Linked DNA regions of Homo sapiens: region 1 is linked to region 2. The links are contacts of gene promoters, found by promoter capture Hi-C in human tissues and cell types (Jung and others, 2019). All regions are on one chromosome and are shown on one strand. The core of a region is centred on a gene start or on the middle of the fragment in contact, and the rest is flanking DNA. Distances in the headings are between cores, read along the strand shown.

Region 1 (6,790 bases), core at 416-2,915, 170 kb after region 2:
GGCAGTGACTTAGAGACAGAGCCAGGTCTGGAACCCAAATGCCCTTTAACCTTGCCACCTCTGGGATCCACAACCCTCAGGGCCACCATTTTAACTTGCACATATTATTATTACTGTGATCATCTGTGCTTCCTTAGAACCTTAATACCTCTGAGGGCCAGAATCACATTGTGTTCATTCTGTAGCCACCCTGTCCTGCGCCAACCCTCCAGCATCATCCCTGTACCAGATGGTACCTCAATAAGTGTCTGTTAAGTTTCACTAAACATAAATCCCATTTTGATCGTTGCAAAAAAACCACGTCTCATTTGAAGACCTCCCTGTGTTCTTATATCTGACTACTGTTGTGGTAGAGCAAACTGAAAGGGTTTGCAAAAGCCGATTGTTAAATTTTGAAGAACGTTGTGAGCTGTTATTAAACATAGCCATAATTCAAATTAAATTATGTAAAATTATAGTTAAATACATTGCATTAAAAACAAAGGGAAGAAATGTTTAAAACTCATCATTTTCTAATTTTATTATACTTTACTTTGATATATTATCAAAGTTCTTGTGGTTGTTGACATTTATTGAATCTACATGCAGAAATCCCCTACCATGGTGTTCACATCTCTTTCCAGCCTGTAATCAGTGACATCATGTTGGTAGCTTGAAATCACCTTTGTGGGAGAATTTACCCCAAGCGAACTGGCAAGCACTACAAATCAGAGCTTGGTTTATTGTTTGGTTGATTGTCTGGAGCTGCACAGCCTCACACAGCTGCCACTAGTTCCATGTGGCTAACTGAGCACTTGAAATGTGGCTAGTCCAAGCTTAGATATGTCATATGTACTGGATATTGAAGATTCAGAATGGAAGAAAAGAATGTAAAATATATCATCAAAAATGTTTATATTGATTATCTATTGAAAGAATAGTGTTTTCTATATATTATGTCAAATATATTAGAATTAATTTAGTCTATTCCTTAAATGTGGCTACTAGCAGATTTTAAATAATATCTGTGGCTTTCATTGCATTTCTACTGGACAGCTCTGGTCTAAATTTAATAAAGTGATGGGGAAAATGTTTATAACGTAGATTAAAATTAAAAGTATGTTGTGCCCATTGATAATAACATTATGAATAGCCAAAAAATACAAAATAATATCCCGGTATTTAAAACCCATTATCTGATTCAGCCAAAAAGTCACTCACATCATTGAGGAGCAAGTAAGTTCCAACATTCATCTTCATCATTTCACGTTCATCTTAACTGTGAAGATGAACATGGGAGCTAACATTCATGTGGGGGCTATGCTGGTTTGTTGGTTGCAGCCACTGGCCAGCCATGGGCATAAGAGTTTGTCAAAAGCCAACTGAAAGCATTCCATGAGGGTCACTTGGCTGTATCAAGTTTATAATAAAGAGTATTGTAGGGCTGGGCACGGTGGCTCACGCCTGTAATCCCAGCACTTTGGGAGGCCGAGGTGGGTGGATCATGAGGTCAGGAGATCGAGACCATCCTGGCTAACATGGTGAAACCCCATCTCTAATAAAAATACAAAAAATTAGCCGGGCGTGGTGGCGGGCGCCTATAGTCCCAGCTACTTGGGAGGCTGAGGCAGGAGAATGGCTTGAACCTGGGAGGCGGAGCTTGCAGTGAGCCGAGATGGTGCCACTGCACTCCATCCTGGGCAACAGAGCGAGCCTCCGTCTCAAAAAAAAAAAAAAAAAAAGACTTGTAGATTTTATTATTATTTGTAAACTGTATGCTACATATCTAATATAGCAGTAAAACTTCTAGTAAACTTATAACATAAACATAAATACACATTTACATGTATATATATTTGTATATATACACATCTATGCATTTTTTCAGAGAGCTGGTTGTTAGGCTCAGCAGCACACTTTAGTTACCAGCACACCACTGTCTCCACCCCTCTCGCTACCCTGTGAGCCCATTGCCCAGGCCCTGTCCTTTGTGGCACTGACAGCCTGTCCCTTCCCTTCCTTCATTTTCCAAATCCGCAGAGTCTCAGAGGTGTGGACTAGAGGTCCCTGCGCCTCCTCTTCCCCTCCTCCCTTTTTTCCACTTTGGACATCTTTTTCAGTCTATTCTCCACTCCACTGTCCTGCCTCCCATCCCAGTTTGTAGACACGTGCCCTGGATAGTCAACCACAGTGCCACAGAGATGTCATTCCCCAGGTTGGCACTCAGCCCCAGCCCTGCCTGCCTGCTCTTGCCCTTCGGTACTGGCTGCTGACAGGCCTGGCACTCAGGATGTCAGGTGGTGACTAGGTCTCCCACCTGTCTGCTAGTCTTTTCTAACCCCATCAAAGATAGCTCTGAAGCAAGACCAAGGGGTGCCTACATCACAGAGAGGGGAGTCTGTGCCAGTGAATGGTGTCCAGAGCACTGGGGACACAGCTCTGCGGCTCTGCAGGTTTCTTGTAATCGCCATCATCGCAAACACCTTGTGCAGCCTGCAGCAATTCTGCCATGAACACCACACACAAAAAACACTACACCACCCAAGCTGTGCCCACCAGGAACCTCCAGGATGCAGGGGACACATTGATCAAGACTTCCAAAGGTCGAGGAGGGGGTACTTGGGGGTAGAAGTAGCAATCCTGTTTAAAGTAAATCATGAACTTTGGAGCAAGGCATGGCCTTAGAAGGAGACTCCAAGAGTTCGGTTCAGGGAGAAGTACAGGGGAAAGTTCCACTGCAGTGGGGTGAGATGGAGAAGGAAGTTAGAGACTGAAGCTCTGATTAGTCCCCTGGAGGAGGCAACATTTCAGAAACGTGGTCTAAAATACACTGGTCTAGGGCACAAGAAGAAGGAGGAGGAGACAAGTACTCCCGCTGCTGGGAAATCGATTTAGGACTAGAGTCCCCAGTGAACCCCTAAAAATTACCCACAGTTTCTAGGGTAGGTATTATTGTATCTAATAATAGTAATCATTTATTGCTATAGCTAACATTTATTGAGCTCTTACTATGGGCCTGGGATTTTATGTCTCAAACAAAAAGATGCAAAGAAGTAGTTATTATTATTATTATTACTGTTATTGTTATTATTATCCTCACTTCTACAGAAGCGAAAAGAGACTCAAGAAGATTAAAGAACTTGCTAAGTGTGGCAGCCCTGCTGGAGGCTGGGCCCAGAGCCAGGCCCCTCACCCCTGCAAGGCATCGCTCCTGCAGGATCGTCGTCACCCTCATCATCGCCATCCTTGTTCCTGACAGGCAGGAGATCCTGGTATTTTTCTGTGTGCTTCCCCTTCTCCATCCCTTTTGGTGATTTTCTGAACATTGTGCAGTTGACAGTGTGGTCATATTCCCATCGTGTAGATGAGGACCCTGAGGTACAAAGAGGTGACATGGGAAATGCTGAGACAGGGCGCAGGTTTGATGTGTTTCTCAGTAGTCTGAAGCAATTGAGAAAAGTAAGTGCAATGCAGTAAATCTTTCATGGGGCTAGCTTGACTTTATCTAAAGGGCTGAGCTTAGTCTGAGAGAATGTCCTTCCTACTGTTAAATTGTCCTTTTCTTTTATGAAATGATGACGGTAGTGGGTGGTGATTGTTGCACTCTTAATGTCCAATTTTGGCAAAATAAAAGGCTGGCTCTCTGGAGCTCCAAATCAGCCCCAGCAGCTGATGTGAAATGCTGTTTGATGATGGTTGACTCCTAACGTCTGACTGTAGTGGTCTGGAGGCTCTGGGCCTGGCTCAGGGCTCCCTCACTGCACATCTCTTCCAGCCAAAGCATTTACCCAGGGACACCTACGCTGCTCACAAACATGAAGGATGCTCAAAGGTGTGGCCCTGCCACCTCCATCTGAGTTGGGAAAATGCCTTCCATTACCCCTGACCATGGATTAAGGGGTCTCAGATCCAGAGAGCCCTGAGGCTGAGCTGGACTTGCCTGGGAGGATGTGCAGAGGGAATGCCCCAGCCTTTCTGGCTTCAGAGGGTGCAGTGTCCCCACCAACTCTCTTTCCAAACCTGCCTCAGCCTGCATGGGGCCCCTTTCCCTGGTACTCACTTTGTTTGCTTTGGGGAGAAAATCGAGAAAGAATCTTCCCTCTACCCTCCCTTGTCCCAGCCATCCCTAAAGCAGTCCAGTGTTATGATTCATCCACCTTTTATTTGCTTCAAGGATTTTCCATGGCATCTCAGAGGCCCCTCTCTTCCCATTTGGCTGGATTCCAAGACCATTAAAGATCTATTCAAACAAACAAACAAAAAAATCTGGATCGAGTGAGGGCAGCTGGTTCCCATTTGGCTCAGCTGTGATCCTGAAGTTTCTGTGTTATGGTGTAGCCTTCATTTCTGGATCATCAGTGGATTTCTCTACCGCTTTCACTAGCACCAGCTGTGGACTGCAATTGTACTCTAGTCAAGTATGGAGGGAATAAGAAATAGTTATGGCAGAAACCTGGGCTTGAAAATGCATCTCTCCTTGAGCTGGCACTTTGAGAAGGCCACAACTGAATGAAGGGACATTAGAGAGTGAGCCTCAGGTCAGGCTGCAGGCCTGGGAAGGCCAAGGGTAGAGCCAGCTGGGAAGAGACAGTCCTCATTGCTGGCCATGGAGGGAGTGAGCTGTTGGGAGCAAGGGCCCGTGTGGCTGGAGGGTGAAGGTCAGATGTAAGGTAGAACTTTTCTAAAGCCAGGATGGGAGACAAGATGGCCATCTCCAGCCTGCTGGACCACCACACCAATGTCTGAAGAAAGGCCCGTGCCCGGAAGAGGCCACTTGCACGGCCAGCCCCATCTCCTCTCTCCCTCTCCAGAGCCTTCTTGCTGGTCTCAGGTTTCATTCTGATGGTTCTGCTCCCAGTTAACTCAGCTCAGGATAAGCTGTCCACCCCAGTCTGCTCCAACCTCTCTCCCTCCAAAGTCACGCCCACCCTCCACACCCCAGTTCCACCTCAGTCCACCACCTCCTCCCTCTCCCAACTCCTCCCTGTCCCCATTGCTTCCTGTGGGTCCCACACCTCCTGCATTGCTCTAGCCACCTCTGGACCAGGGCTTCAAGGAAGGCAAAAGTGGAGCTGAGTCCTAGGCACTGTCCAGACACCCCCAACACTGAGAGGATCCACCTCCACGGCCTGGAAGTGACAACAGGCCACAGCCTCTGCGGGCAGCATGCAGTAGGAAAGCCCAGGGAAAAGGGACCCAGCCAGTGCCTGGGACCCAGAGACATCAGGCTTTGGCTGATGGAATATGATAGAAGTGCCAACAGAAAATGGGCAGGGAGCCTGCAGGACATCAGGGGAGGGTGGAAAGGTGCAGCCGCAGGGGCACAGAGTTCCCATCCCGGGAGGCAGGGCAGTGGTGTGGAAAGAGTGTGGGTTATGGAGAGACAGACCTCACCGGATTCTGGCTCTGCAGCCCTGGGATTGGTATGTCTCTGCCTTGGGAATAATAACACCCACCTCAGAGGGATGATGAAGGAGCTGTGCCCAGCCTCCAGAGCCTGGCCCATGGAAGGTGCTCCACAAACATCAGCTTCCGTTTCCCCTGCCCAGTACTCTGGGTTTGAAGTGCAGGACAAGCCATGGGGGCGAGGCTCTGCAGATGGAGAGAAGGAGCTGAGCAGTGGCCAAGGCTGGGAGGCCTCCGCCACCTAGGCAAGACGCCCAGGTGCCATGGGAACCTGCTGCTCTCCTCAGCCCCAGAGGTGTCCTGAGGGTGCCAACCTCCATGTCTACAGCCGGCTTGACCCCCAGCAGCCCCTGGTGGTTCCCTCTCTGGGCTGCTGTATCTGGCTTGGACTGCTGCAGGCACCCTCCAGTTGGGTGTCCTGAGGACCGGCTCCTGTCAGTGTCCGCAGGGAAAGCCTGGAGTCAAAGCCCCATGGGGAGGAGAGATAGGCCATCAGCTCATGCTGAGTGCAAATGGGTGCCAGGCATGTGCTGGGAATATGAAGGTGAAGGCAATCCAGTCTCTGGTCACTGGCACTAGGATAGTTGCCAGAAAGGACCAGTAAGTCCTTTCTGTGGGAGTAACTGGAAGAGAGAAGGGCTCTCTCCCAAGTGGCAATTGTCAAGCATTGGGCCTTCACTGTCTGCACTTGAGGAAACAGACTCCATAGCGAACAAACTATGACTCCTCTCCTCATCTCCCATAGTCCTGCAATCACAGCCCCCTCTGTCTTTGGATGCCTTCTTCACCCCGGCCCCAGCCATGCAGCCCCGCCCCCAGGCTCCCTCTTGCACAAAGCGCTCCTGCTCAATGAAGCTGTCCAGTTGCTTGTAGTGCTGTCTTGGGCCAGTCTCTGTCTCCAGCCCAAGAGATCCTCCAGCATCTCCATCTCACCTTGGGATTGACCCACTGACATTTTGTTCCCACTGGTAAACTAAACGGAGCAATTCCTGCTATACAGTACAGAAGCCACCCCCCATCAGGACACCAGGGCCTTGTGAAGAGTCCCTGCAGCACTAGTCCTCTTCCACATTTACCCTGCGATGGCCTCTTCCTGGAACCTTCCAGCTGGGGGAAGCAGGCAGGTGGCAGCACTGCCAAGAACAAACTCCTGTCCAGACTTGCGAGCCGGAGGCCTGCACCCACTGTTCTCCCCGTGGCCCCCTAAAAGGCAGACAATACACAGGGTATCCTTGAGGTCTAGCCCAGGGTGGCTATAAATAGGCTGGGGCTCTGATCCTCAATTTTTTCATCTGTATAATGGCCGTAACAACAGTCCTTCACTCCCAGAGCTGTTCTTAGGCAATGGGCATGAAAATGCTTTTTAAACTGTAAAGCAACAGGTAGGCACCCATCAGAAGAAAAA
Region 2 (6,504 bases), core at 656-3,155:
TTGCCCTTCACTTGCTCATTTATGCAACAAACACTTATTAAATATTTACTACTTAGTGCCAAGGCCTGTGGTAAGATATACACATCCATGTCTAATGTCTGTGTCTATGTCTATATCATCTAACTATGCATTCCATTCAATTATCACAGCCCTGTGGGATGTAGATATTACTTACCCCATGTTGCACATGGGGAAATTGAGACCCCCAAGGTGTGAAATGCCCAGCTCATGGTAAGCGATAGTCTTGAGATAGGCATGCTCTGCCTCCCCCTACAGCATGTCTGAGATGCTCGTATACACCCCCTTAGCTCCAAGTTGCTGTCTGATAAGTGGAGACGCTGATACCCACTCCAACCCGTCACTGTGAGGATGGACTCAGATCACTAAAGAAAGAGTGAAAACGTGAAGGTGACTGCCTCTGCCCCCAAACCCTGATCCTAGGCCCCCAAAGCTGCTCCTTCTGCTCTGCTAGAGGCCTGTGGACACAGGAGGAGCCTGTGAAGGAGGCTCCCAGCCTCCCCCGACAAAACTTTCTTGGGAGGCAGCCTCACAGCTATGCAGCGTTCTCCACACTCTGGCTGCATTAGGGGGCCTCCTCCTACCAGCCTGGCCACCTCCCTGTCTGCATTTCAGCCCTCTCTCATGAAGGGGCTGCCAGGCCTGGGTTGGCTGTCACACCTCCTCACCTACCACTGTCCTTGGAAAATAATGATAGTAGCAGCTAACATGTATTGAGTGCTGACTATTTGCCATCATGTTTCATGCATGGACTCATTAATTCCTCACAGGTGGATGAGGCAGTCCTGTTATTCAGCAGAGTAACCTGCCTGGGGTCTCACACTGCTGAGTGATGCAGCAAGGACTTGGGAGAGGCAGCATGGCTGTGGGCATTACCCCAGCCCCTTCACGGGCTGCCTGGCTAGGAGCCACAAGGTCTTTTGGTCTCCCCGTTATCTCCCACTCTTCCAGCACCTGCTGCCCAGTCTGGTTTTTCAGACACAGTTCTGATAGTCCTATGTCGTCTTGGCTCAAGAAACACACACACGCTCACACACATGTACACACTCACATGCATACACACACATATGCTCACACACATGTACACACACACATATACACACCACACACTAACATACGTACAGGCGCACACACCGCTACACACACACACATGTACACACACACACATGCACACACTTTGGATCACAGGCTCAATTTCTAGACCACACCTGGACCTCGTTAAATGCTGCGGGAGTTAAGTGATGGAAACTGACCCTTCCACCTGTATGGGTCTGCACGTCATTCCCTCTGCTGCCTCAAACCGGCAGCCATCCTGTCTCCTCAGCAGACTGGGACCTCCCCAAGGGAGGACAGGGCTGGAGGCTTCTCTGGGCCGTCTCAGGCCTCACCCACCTTGTCGATGAAGGCCGCGAACCTGCTGTTGAGGGACTTGATCTGCTCCTTCTCCTCCTGCTTCACGCACTGTGCGTTGGGGTCGATCTCCAGGTTGAGGGGCGTGAGGAGGCTCTCGTTGACCGACACGGTAGTGATGCATGGGGGGCTGGGTCCGCACACGCCCCCGGAGCGGTAGCCGAAGCTGCGTCCGCAGGAGCCGGCTCGGAAGCCACCTACAGCTATCCGGGGCCCGCAGGAGCCCAGGTTGCAGAGGCTGCGGCTGCCGAAGCCCGTCAGCCCTCGGTAGCAGGACACCCCTCGGTAGGGGGCGGCGCTGATGCAGCAGCGGTTGCCAGTTTTGGGGGCCACAGCTGAGCAGGAGCTGAAGTTCCTGGTGACCCCGCATCCTGAGCTGATCCTGTAGGAGCGGCACGACATCGTGTGAGGCTGAGCAGAGTCTGAGAGGCAGCGGAAGGTGGTGCGGGCGGCAGAGTGCGAGGCTCAGGATCCTTCTGCTCTCTCTGATCCTCCCTGGTCCTTTTATTGGTGGGGAGAGCTGGGGTTGGCTGCATAAAAGGAGTGGAAAGCCATTTTATGTTGTTTATGGGCTTGGGGAGTTTGCCAGCAACTCCCCACGGACTCATCTTAAAGGTGAGCTCAGCAGCGACTCTGGGGCTCCCTGAAGTCTTGAAGATGTTATTAAGGAGACTGCATTTGAACTTTTCATCTTCAAAGCTCGTTTACATACATTAAGTAATTAATTTTCTCACAGTCTTTCTGTGAGATGGCCTCAACCCACACTTGGAGACGGATTTGAACTCCACAACAGCCTGGGGGTGGCTGGGTTTGGGATACAGGCAGGAGCCATTGTCTCAAGGGAGAGGTTGGAGGGTCCTGGGTTAGGTGAGACTTGGGGGATCATTGCATTCATCTATCTGGTTCCACAGAGGACACATTCTCAAGTAAATCATTGCATTTCAGGGGCCAATAGGTCAGGCGAATCCCACCCCATCTAGGCAGCATTGCTTGGAAGGTGGTTCAGGACCAGAGCGGTCATTTTGACCATGCCCGTGCCAGGATAAAAGGCTGGGGCAGATGATCTCTTGGAACCTTCTGGATTCCAGCCCAGAAGGCGCTGGTCCAGAGCTTTCACTTCTCACCCAGCAAAAGTGCAAACCACAGAACTCTCAGTGGCCACAATAATGGCTACTTGCGGATTATGGGGAGACTCCCTCTAGCCACTTTCTTCCATTCGGTCAAAAGGATTGGAGAACTCAACCTTGGGATAACCTGGGGGCTATAAATTTGCTGTGGGCACCTTTGCTTTGCTCTTTAAGAAGAAACAGGTCATGTGAGTCTCCCTTCCCAGACCACCAGCTACAAGAGGTATTCCTTCTGTTGGCCAGCCCTTGAATTGTCATCCCTAGAGGAGTGTTTAGAGACTGCATTGCACAAAGCTGGAAGTGGGATAGTGGTTTATTCTTGTCTAAGGTGGCTATGACTTCTGGCTCCTGGGGGTTCTGGGAGCCCCATCCTTCTAGTTTCTGCTTCCCTGTGTGTCCTTGGGACACTTATTAGGATAACAAGTGCTATTCTTTTAATGTTTATGGAGTACAAACCTTGGGGATGTGGGTCTGCCCCCAGGAAGGTTAGCCAGACACCCAAGTGTTAGGAACTTAAGGAAGAAGAGCCGATGAGCTTCCTCAGAGGGTGACTCCTCCTCCAGGAAGCCTTCCATAACCAAACACTGCCATCATGCTGCTGTTCTCATAAGTCCTTCACGAAATGCCCTGTACTCTGTCCTGCATCTGCTCTAATCTCCACAGCCAGCTGACCTCACCCAGGACCTTCACCCAGGATCAGGCTGATCGATTCCCACCTCACCTCCACATTCCACATTGTTCTTCAGGGCAGGGTAGAGAGACCTTGGCAGCTGGTGGGGGAAGAGCAGGTGGTCTCACCAGCTGACCCTAGAACATATGCAGATCATAATCATCCATGGAAAAGCAACTGCGTTTGGCAACCCGGGCAATGGAATCAAAGCTGGAAGACCTGGTTCAAGGGCCAGTTTGGATCCTTCCTAGCTGTATGGTTTTGGAGGAAGTTCTTAAACTCTCTGAGCCTCTGTTTCCTTAACTGTAATGTGGATTCATCCTTACCTTCCCGGGCTGTTGGGAGGGTGAAGAGGATGATATGTGAGGGAAAGCTCTGTGTAAAGGAAAGGGACTGTTGCTTTCCACGAGAAACATTCCCACCTGCCTCACCCAGCAGAAAGGGCTGTTCCTTGCCCTGCCACAGCCTTCACCTCCTCTGCACATTTATGACTCCTTCACCCTTTCAAGACTGCTTTTAATGTTTTTTTTTTTAGTCTGATTTCACTTGTATAGCAATTTTGGGTGGAGTCTGGGGACAGAGAGAGGAGGCTGTATGGGGGAGCTCAGTGTGGGGCCTATTGCTGGGATACAGGGATGTTTGGACAGTGAGTTCACTGACTGACTGCCATGTAGACCTGGAGCTGGTGTGGTATGGGCCAAGAGGGATTCCTGGAGAAGGGTGGGGTCCGAACGTGGCAGGTAGAGGGGACTGAAAGCCCAGAAACACCTGCCTCTCTCCACAACTCCCGTAAGCCTCTGCCCTCCTCCAGGTTCTTAAAGATGATGGGACCAGAGACATTTCTCTTCCTTCTTGGGGGCAGGAGGTTTTGTCCTGGAGGGAGGCTCCTGTTTCAGCTGCTTTCCCTTGCACCCAACACACACCCCATCCAACCCTCCACCCTAAATGGGAAGGGAAGGTGGGGCCAGGGGATTCAGGAGTCTGGGGGTATTCCACTGTTTCCAGAGCTAAGATACCTCTACAGGACCAGCAGGTCTGTCCAGCCCAAGGGTATGAGCCCCTTCGAGGGTGTGCGGGGGTGAGACAGGCCCACCCTGCCCACAGGAATGTGCTCGTGCGTGCTGGGTGAAGCTTGCATCACTGCTGATGGCAGTGCTGAGCCCAGGGCTGGGGCTGGGGGCTTCCCAGGATGCTGTCCAGGTGGAGCTTCGGATTGGAGGAGCTGGACTGAGGGCAAAGCCTTGAGGGGAGCAGATTCCTTACGGGGCTGGCCCCAGGTGGTCCAGGGCCAGGGAGCAAGTCAGGCCAGGTGGATCTGGCACAGCTGCCCTGGAAAGACCTGGGCCTTTGCTTATGGTTCTACCCAGGGAGGACACAGAGAACACATAGCCTCCTGCCTGCCTCTAGCCATCACCCAACCACTCTGCCCAGTGGAACCCAAGTCGTTGCCCTGAGAGTCAGGATCTTTTGGGGGCTGGGAGCCCCATCTCCTTTCAGTGTCTCACCCTCATTCACTGTGCCCTCATTCACCTGTGCCCTATTGCATCCCTCTTCCTTCCACCAACCTTCTCCCTGTTACACCTTGGCCTGGAATGTCTCAGAATAGCTGCCTCTTCCAGGAAGGCTTTGTGAGCTCATCGGGGGAGGCTGTGATTTCTCCTCCCTGCTGTCTCATAAATGCCCTCTCTGGGGCTCCCCAGGTAACTCCATTTATCCCCTTCTACACTCTCTTGTCCTAAGGACTGTCACTCATCACCTCCTTTGGCTCTGTCCCCTCTTGTACCCTGCACCTTTTGAAGGCCCCATCTAGTTTCGGGAATCTGAAGAATCCACGACCTTCCCATAATTTAAACTGCTCCCAAGTGGCTTCTTCTTCCAGAAAGTCTTCAAGAACTACTTGAGGAGAGAAGTTCTTTACTCTACCCTGGAGCTCCAGGCAACCTCTGAGACCTCCTGTGAATCTGCTCCACTCCAGAGGTACATATTCTGGGGTTTTCTCAGAGGCCTCACTGCTCCCACCTCAGCCCCACTCTCAGGCGGTGCTTTTTACCTGAGCTGGGATGCTCCCTGGGGCAGCTGGCTCTCCCCAACCCCAGAGGCCCACTACCTCCCTTCCCTTCTGCTTTTTCTACTGTGCTAAAATCCCCTCCTTCCAGGAAGACTTCCTGGATTTGTCCAAAGACAGGAGGGTGCTGACACCTTCCCCATCCTGCACTGTCTGTCCTCCCAGTTTTGTGTTTGTGCCTGCCTGGGCTCTTGTGGGTTGTCTTCCCATCCCTCCTAGTGGGCTGGTCCCCCTCAGTCAGTCCTGATGGGCTCCCCATGGACAAGGCCTGCACAGCTGATTCAAACTGGGTACCGCCCTTTGCCTCTGCTGGCCACACTTTTATTATGCATCTAAGGCTACGCCACTGCCGCTGCTGAGACGCAGCTCTTGGAGGCTCTTCTTAGCCCTCTTTCCCTCTCTTTGACTTTCACAAGACTTGGGCATGATTCAGGGACCCTAAGTGAGAGAAAGGAGGGTCAGAGCAACTCTACGTTCTCCAGTGTGTCATGGCGGGGTTCCGTGCCCAGCTGACACAGCTGCTCCCTGGCCTGCTCCACGGCAACTCCAAGAAACTCCATTCTCCTCCCGAACTCTGTCCACGTGCCTTCCTATTGGCAGCATTCCCTGGTGCTTTGCTGTTTTCCATGGTTACTCGGGATCAGAGCAGTGGCTCAGTCGTTACAGAGCCTCTGATTTCAGGAATGTACTGCATGAATGGTTTTGAAATGTTTTCTTTCTTTTCTTTTTGGCAGTTGAGCCATCTCCCCAAATCCTAGGAGGAAAACAGCTATATAAAGCCATGTATTTACTTATGTAGTTATAGAATAGATAAGATTGACATGCTGGTCTCCCTGTTTGCCCCTGGCCCTCCAACTCCATTCTCAGCCGAGGAGAGTAAGCCCCGTAAAACATAAGTTGGATCATGTCTCTACCCTGCTCAAACACCCAATTCCCCATTTTGCTTGGAGTCCTAACAATGGCCAACAAGGCCCTGCACTGCCTGTCTGTGTTGTGGCCTTTGTCACCGGTCTCCCTGTGTTCAGCAACCACAGTGACCTCCCACTGGAGCACCAGGACAGGGTGCACTCCTGACTCAGGGCCTGTGCCCTGCTGTCTCTTCCACCCAAATGCTCCCCTGTCATCCAAGTGGCTTGCCCATTGCCTCCTGCAGGGCTTTGCCCCTATACCATCTCTCTGACCCTTTAAAAAAATGGCAACCTGCCCTCCACCCC

What was found. The method cuts DNA at HindIII sites, captures the fragments that hold promoters and counts their contacts. A contact is called where the count stands out against the background at its distance.
Region 1: a fragment that was not itself captured here is called in contact with the fragment with the promoter of KRT85 in region 2 in 1 of the 25 tissues and cell types used here (bladder).

The regions. Positions count from the first base shown.
Region 1 is chr12:52,535,081-52,541,870 of GRCh38, forward strand. No RefSeq gene overlaps it. Among named protein-coding and RNA genes, the nearest start is that of KRT71, 15 kb to the right of the region's middle. The HindIII fragment of the contact is 6,747 bases long and covers 1-5,039 here.
Region 2 is chr12:52,365,576-52,372,079 of GRCh38, forward strand. KRT85 (keratin 85) reads right to left here and starts at 1,906. Exons shown (of 9, transcript NM_002283.4): 1 at 1,411-1,906. The coding sequence starts at 1,830. RefSeq lists an enhancer at 4,458-4,957. The HindIII fragment of the contact is 10,604 bases long and covers 1-6,504 here.